2 separate regions of the Homo sapiens genome follow, and region 2 is linked to region 1. Evidence: promoter capture Hi-C in 16 types of primary human blood cells and fetal thymus (Javierre and others, 2016). All regions are on one chromosome and are shown on one strand. The core of a region is centred on a gene start or on the middle of the fragment in contact, and the rest is flanking DNA. Distances in the headings are between cores, read along the strand shown.

Evidence for each region. The method cuts DNA at HindIII sites, captures the fragments that hold promoters and counts their contacts. A CHiCAGO score of 5 or more calls a contact.
Region 2: a contact is called between a fragment that was not itself captured here and the fragment with the promoter of PPCDC in region 1, in 1 of 17 cell types (neutrophils). The highest score is 5.5, in neutrophils.

Annotation. Positions count from the first base shown.
Region 1 is chr15:75,022,220-75,025,485 of GRCh38, reverse strand. PPCDC (phosphopantothenoylcysteine decarboxylase) reads right to left here and starts at 1,896. Exons shown (of 6, transcript NM_021823.5): 1 at 1,860-1,896. The HindIII fragment of the contact is 7,713 bases long and covers 1-3,266 here.
Region 2 is chr15:75,358,465-75,362,068 of GRCh38, reverse strand. MAN2C1 (mannosidase alpha class 2C member 1) reads left to right here. Exons shown (of 26, transcript NM_006715.4): 9 at 122-214; 10 at 349-465; 11 at 688-783; 12 at 878-1,023; 13 at 1,381-1,504; 14 at 1,858-1,979; 15 at 2,081-2,166; 16 at 2,294-2,449; 17 at 2,644-2,741; 18 at 2,916-3,010; 19 at 3,261-3,365; 20 at 3,451-3,604. Among named protein-coding and RNA genes, the nearest start is that of MIR631, 6.6 kb to the right of the region's middle. The HindIII fragment of the contact is 940 bases long and covers 1,656-2,595 here.

The DNA of each region.
Region 1 (3,266 bases), core at 647-3,146:
TAATTCAGGGCAGAGTTTTAGGTTTCAGGGATACCTGCCAGTCCCTATATGGGCAAAGGTGGAGCTGGCACAGAACCAGACTAAAGACAGAGCAAGGAAAGCAAGGCCAGACAGGGTATACGTTCAAGCTCAATACAGGAAGGATGAGAACTGAGCCTAAGACAAAGCAGAACCAAACAAGGGAAGTGGGTGGTGGGTAGGCAGGGATCCAAGATCCATTATGAGCCTGAATCCTTTAGCCTAACATCAAAGCCCCTCACTACCGGCTGCCCAGGCTTCTGCTCCAGCTTACACCTGTAATCCCAGCAATTTAAGAGGGCAAGGTGGGAGGATTGAGCAAACCCAGGTACTCGAGACCAGCCTGGGTAACATAGCAAGACCCCATACAAAAAATTTAAAAGTTAGTGAGGTGTGGTGGCACATGCCTGTGGTCTCAACTACTTGGGAGGCTGAGGCAGGAGGATCGCTTGAGCCTAGAAGGCTGCAGTGAGCCATGTTTGTGCCACTGCACTCCAGCCTGGGTGACAGAGAGAGACCATTTCAAAATATAATAATAGTACCACAAAAAAAAAAAAGTGTGTAGCTATTTACATAGCATTTACACTGTATCAGGTTTTATAAGTAATCTAGAGATTATTTAAATTATATGGAGGGCGTGGTGGCACGTGCCTGCAGTCCCAGCTACCTGGGAGGCTGAGGTGGGAGGATTATCTGAGCCCAGGGAGTTCGAAGATGCAGTGAGCTATGATTGCACCACTACACTCCAGCCTGGGAGACAAGAGTGAGACCCTGACTCAAAAAAAAAAAAAGAAAAGAAAAAAGAGTATACAGGAGGGTGATGTGGTGGCTCACACCTGTAATCCCAGCATTTTGAGAGGCCAAGGAAGGAGGATAGCTTGAGCCAGGAGTTTGAGACCAGCCTGGGCAACATGGTGAGACCCTGTCTCTACAAAAATGAAATAAAATAAAAATTAGCCGGGTATGGTTGTTTATGCCTGTGGTTCCAGCTACACAGGAGGCTGAGGCAGGAGGATCCCTTGAGCCCAGGAGGTCGAGGCTGCAGTGAGCCATGTTCCTGCCACTGCACTCCAGCCTGGGTCACAGAATGAGACCTTGTCTCAAAAAAAAAAAGTATACAGCAATCCCCTGCGGATACTGAGGGATAAATGTATCTAACACACACACTCACACACGTGGGCTACTAGAAAGGCAGTGACTGCGAATTGCTACTTCCCAGCCACTGTGAGAGATGTGGAAACCCCTGCTCCAGGACAACCACCACTTCCCCAACTTGGCAACCTCTCCTGCTCACCATCTAGCACCTGCTTCCAAATACTTCAAGGACAGCAGGAAGTTCTTTTCTGACAAGATTTGGCCTAATTTTTAAATAGCACTCAGCACTTTTTGGCAGGCCTAGGGCTACTTCCAACATCCCATGGCTTTCCTTTTTTAATTTTACCAACTTTTTAAATACACTTTGTACTTTGGGCAGCCCGGGTAAGCGTTCAGTGTGAGGAGCTGACACGGCCATCATTTAAACTAGATTAAACGACACTGGACAAATAATCGCAGAGCAGCACAAAGTCGGGCTGGACGGGTACAGATGCAAACCCTCCACTCAGGGCTCGGGGGTCCCTCCTGCTCCAGGCGGCCCCACCCGTACAGCCGGGAAAGTGAGGTCGCACAGATGGACGGCCGCCTACCCACGCACAGTCGCAAACAGAGCTTCATGGGCACACAGGGGAAAATAAGGACACACACAGACAGCCGTGGACCCACGCTCGCGGACACAGCTCCCCGAACCTCCCCTCCCGCGCCGCCGCGAGAACCCAGCTTCCCAGCCCCCTTCCACTGCTCACCCGCGCCAGGCGCGTCTCGGGGCCGCTCCCAAATATCGCGGTATCTCTGCCGCTCTCCCGCGGAATCTGACTGGCACGCCTCACGAGAGCACCGGGCTGGCTGTATGTCGCGCAGCCTTCTGGGAGCTGTAGTCCACTTCTCTGCCTTCCGGGAGTTGTAGTCCACTGGGGAAATCCTGGAGCAAACCCTGGCCCTGTTCTTTGTATTGCTGGGACTCTCGATAGGGGCTGGCATAACTGTCCGACCTCCTTTCCTCACTCCTATCAGCCCCACACACACTGCTTGTTGCTTGGGGCCTTTTTTTTTTTTTTTTTTTTTTTGCTGTTGTCCCAGGTTTATTGAAAATATTACAGTATCTCAAAAAGATTCAAACAGCTTCCACGTGGCGTTTTGAAATTCATCCCCACTGTTGGCTGAGTGACCTGCAGGTTGGACAGACTGCCAAAGTCCAAAAACATCAGCATTTCCTTAATGTCAGGATATGTTAATACTTCAATGATTTCCTGATCCAGGGCTGAGACCTCAGGAACATGATTATCTCTCCTTTCTCTCTTCTCCTCCTGCAACTTGATGCAGATACCTCTCACTGAGCGCTTCAAATCAGCTTCATCACATGCATGTTGTAGCCTGCTATCTTGTTGGGGAGCTGTTTTTTTTTTTGTTTTTTTTTTTTTTTTTGAGACAGGGTCTGGCTCTGTCACCCAGACTGGAGTGCGCAGTGGTGCTATCTCCACTCACTGCAACCTCCACCTTTTGGGCTTAAGCCATCCTCCTATCTCAGCCTATGGAGTAGCCAGGACTACAGGAGTGCACCATCATGCCAGACTAATGTTTGTATTTTTTGTAGAGACGGGTTCTCACTCTATTGCCCAGGCTGGTCTCAAACTCCTAGGCTCAAACAATCCGCCCACCTTGGCCTCCCAAAGTGCTGGGACTACAGGAGTGAGCCACCACGCTCGGCCCTGGGGAGCATTTTGCTGGAAATAATGGTGATCTCCTTGCACATGTGTTGTTTGTGTGGAAGTTGCTGCCCGGGTGTGTGTATTACTTTTTTATGACGAAGTATAGAAAAGGGCTATCTTCATGGTATTAGTGTGAATGGGGCCCATGTTGGCAGGTCCTTAGTAAAAGAGGGCTCGTGGCACTTAATATTTACCAAGCCTCTTCTATTTTAGGTGCACAGGATACAGAGATAAATCAGATGCGTCCCTGTTCTTGAGACAAACAGGGACACAGAAAATGACAGGGTAAGATCCTCCATGAGGAAGCAACACCTCTAGGCAGGAAAGCCTTCTTGAAGGAGTGACTTGAAATGAATCTTGAAGGACAGCCAGGAGGTTAGATAGAGGATCCCAATAGCGATCCAGGTGGAAGGCATCAAATGGGCAAAGGGAAGGCGGCAGAAG
Region 2 (3,604 bases), core at 876-3,375, 340 kb before region 1:
GGCTGTAACTCCCATGTTTGAGCAGCCCTGGCTTCTCCTGCAGGGATTGGGTTGGCCTGAGCGCCTGCCTGCTCCCCGTCCAGCGCTGACCTGGGCTGCCTCCCACTTCCTTCACTGCCAGGATGGGAACCTGCCCAGTGGAGAGGCCATGGTGAGGCAGTTTTTGCAGGGCCAGAACTTCTTTCTGCAGGAGTTTGGGAAGATGTGCTCTGAGGTAGGCTGAGAGCTGCTACACCAGGCTGTGGGCGAGTGGGGCTGGCGCTCGACTTGGAGTGCTGAGGGGCTGAGGCTGGGGTGAGTCCGCCTGGAGCTCTGGTTCCTGCACTCCAGGATCCTCTTTCTCCACAGTTCTGGCTGCCGGACACCTTTGGCTACTCAGCACAGCTCCCCCAGATCATGCACGGCTGTGGCATCAGGCGCTTTCTCACCCAGAAATTGAGCTGGAATTTGGTGAACTCCTTCCCAGTAAGCAGGCCCCCGGGGGGTCAGGGTCAGAGTGGGCCTCAGTCCCGCCTGGCCCATTTGCCTCTCCCCCTTATTGTGGGGTCCTAGACAGACCACCAAACCCTCACTCTGCCTCTGCCAGGGTCACATAGCAGGCAGGGGCAGGACCAAGTCTGGAAGGCCTGGCTCTGCCTCAGCCCTGACTCTGGCCTCTCTGCCCTGCTTCTGTTTCCCTGCTGGTAGCACCATACATTTTTCTGGGAGGGCCTGGATGGCTCCCGTGTACTGGTCCACTTCCCACCTGGCGACTCCTATGGGATGCAGGGCAGCGTGGAGGAGGTGAGGGGTCACCTAGGGTGGTGGGGTAGGGGCAGGCTGGAGAGGGCTGGCTTGTTCCAGGCTGATCCATGCTGGCCTGCCCTCACCTGTCTAGGTGCTGAAGACCGTGGCCAACAACCGGGACAAGGGGCGGGCCAACCACAGTGCCTTCCTCTTTGGCTTTGGGGATGGGGGTGGTGGCCCCACCCAGACCATGCTGGACCGCCTGAAGCGCCTGAGCAATACGGATGGGCTGCCCAGGTCAGGCCAGGCCTTGGCTCTCCTTTAGCCCCACCCTGGGCCCTTGCCATGAGCCCTGCCTTCCCTCAGACATTGGGCCCAACCCCTCCTCTGGACCTTGTCCTGTCCCAATCCTAGACCACGGGTTCCTCCAAACTTCCACCCTGGGGGTGGGTGGGGGAGAAGCTGAAGCTGGTAAGGGCTCCAGCCCATCAGAGAGAGAGGCTCTCCTAGGGCGTCCAGGGCTGGCCATCTGTGAACGGGGAGCTTTCTGGAGTGGCTCCTCTCTGTAGGAGCTGGATCCTTTGCTTTGGTGTGGAAGAAGGGTGAGCCATGTGGTCTCCAAGGCTGGGAGACCTAGGCTTGTGGTCTCCTCAGGGTGCAGCTATCTTCTCCAAGACAGCTCTTCTCAGCACTGGAGAGTGACTCAGAGCAGCTGTGCACGTGGGTTGGGGAGCTCTTCTTGGAGCTGCACAATGGCACATACACCACCCATGCCCAGGTCAGGGGGAGGTTGCAGGGCTGTGCAGGGAGGGTGTGCCCTTGATCTGCAGAGGGTCAGAGAAGGCAGCAGGGGACAGAGCCCAGGCCAGATCTAGGGGAAGAGAAGTTTGGAGGAGAGAAGTTCAAGACCTGGGTTGGTCAAGAAAGCTTGAAGGAGGCAGAAACCCCTGAAGAAAGAAGGGTTTGGGCTGCGGGGAGAAGAGGGAAGGCATTTAAGGCAGGTCACCCGCCAGAGGCCTTCTCCACGAGGCCCTTGGTGAGTCCTCAGGGATTCTGAGCAAGGGAGGGCTTTGGAAGGTGTCCTGGGACAGCTAAGCAGGCTCCAGACTAATCTTCCCATCCTGGGCTCAGATCAAGAAGGGGAACCGGGAATGTGAGCGGATCCTGCACGACGTGGAGCTGCTCAGTAGCCTGGCCCTGGCCCGCAGTGCCCAGTTCCTATACCCAGCAGCCCAGCTGCAGCACCTCTGGAGGTCAGCCCAGTTCTGTCCCTGCCATCCACCTGACTGCTCACTGCAGTTACCTCTGTGCCTGCCCCTCCCAGCCTTCCCATCCCTGCCCTTGGCCCCTGCAGGCTCCTTCTTCTGAACCAGTTCCATGATGTGGTGACTGGAAGCTGCATCCAGATGGTGGCAGAGGAAGCCATGTGCCATTATGAAGGTTAGGCTCACAATAGTCCTGCCTGCTCTCTCCAACCCCAGGGCTGAGCCCAGAGTGTCCCCTGTGGGATACCCATGGGCACATTCCAGACCTGTTGCCCACCTATGACCAGCCAGTCTTTCCTCAGACATCCGTTCCCATGGCAATACACTGCTCAGCGCTGCAGCCGCAGCCCTGTGTGCTGGGGAGCCAGGTCCTGAGGGCCTCCTCATCGTCAACACACTGCCCTGGAAGCGGATCGAAGTGATGGCCCTGCCCAAACCGGGCGGGGCCCACAGCCTAGGTACGAGCTGAGGGGAAGGGTTGCTACTGCAGCAGGAAGGATGGAGGCCAGACAGATCAGGCCTGGGATACCCCGAGGGATCTGGGTGCCCCTGACTGGAGAGTAGTAGCACATCTTCCACCAACCCATCCCCACCTGCGCAAGCTTCCTGAAAGGTCAGGAAGGCTGCACTGATGCCCAGGCCTCACCCCCAGCCCTGGTGACAGTGCCCAGCATGGGCTATGCTCCTGTTCCTCCCCCCACCTCACTGCAGCCCCTGCTGCCCCAGCAGCCTGTGTTCGTAGTGCAAGAGGTGAGTCCTGCATGCCCTGGGGGGCAGGAACTGTGCTGGGATACTTTCTTACAACTGAGGGTCCTGAGCTCCCCTGTCTGGAGCAAGTGGTGAGGCGGGGCTGGGGTTGGGGTGGGAAGACTTTTGGTGTGGGAAGCCCCTACAGACTCAGCCTCAAGGCCTCCTCCCACAAAGACTGATGGCTCCGTGACTCTGGACAATGGCATCATCCGAGTGAAGCTGGACCCAACTGGTCGCCTGACGTCCTTGGTCCTGGTGGCCTCTGGCAGGTGCCAAATCCTCATTGCCCTTTCCCAGTGCCTGGCAAGTAGACCCCAGGCCATTTCCTCTCTCCCCTTGCCACAACACTGCCCACAGCAGCCCACCAGTGGCTCTGGGCTGGAACCCACACATGGAGCAGGGCAGGCTGGGCAGTAGTCCCCTGTCCACTGGGTCTACTCACTCCACCCTACCCCACCAAGAGCAGCTGGAGACAGCGAGGTCAGTTGGTTGTACAGCACCAATCCCATGTCCTTCCAGGGAGGCCATTGCTGAGGGCGCCGTGGGGAACCAGTTTGTGCTATTTGATGATGTCCCCTTGTACTGGGATGCATGGGACGTCATGGACTACCACCTGGAGACACGGTATAGGCTGGGCAGCATGTGGGGATGGTGGAGGTGGTGGGAACACAGGCTGCTCTGGATCAGTATGTCCACCCCTGTCCCATAGGAAGCCTGTGCTGGGCCAGGCAGGGACCCTGGCAGTGGGCACCGAGGGCGGCCTGCGGGGCAGCGCCTGGTTCTTGCTACAGATCAGCCCCAACAGTCGGCTTAGCCAGGAGGTTGTGCTGGACGTTGGCTGCCCCTATGTCCGCTTCCACACC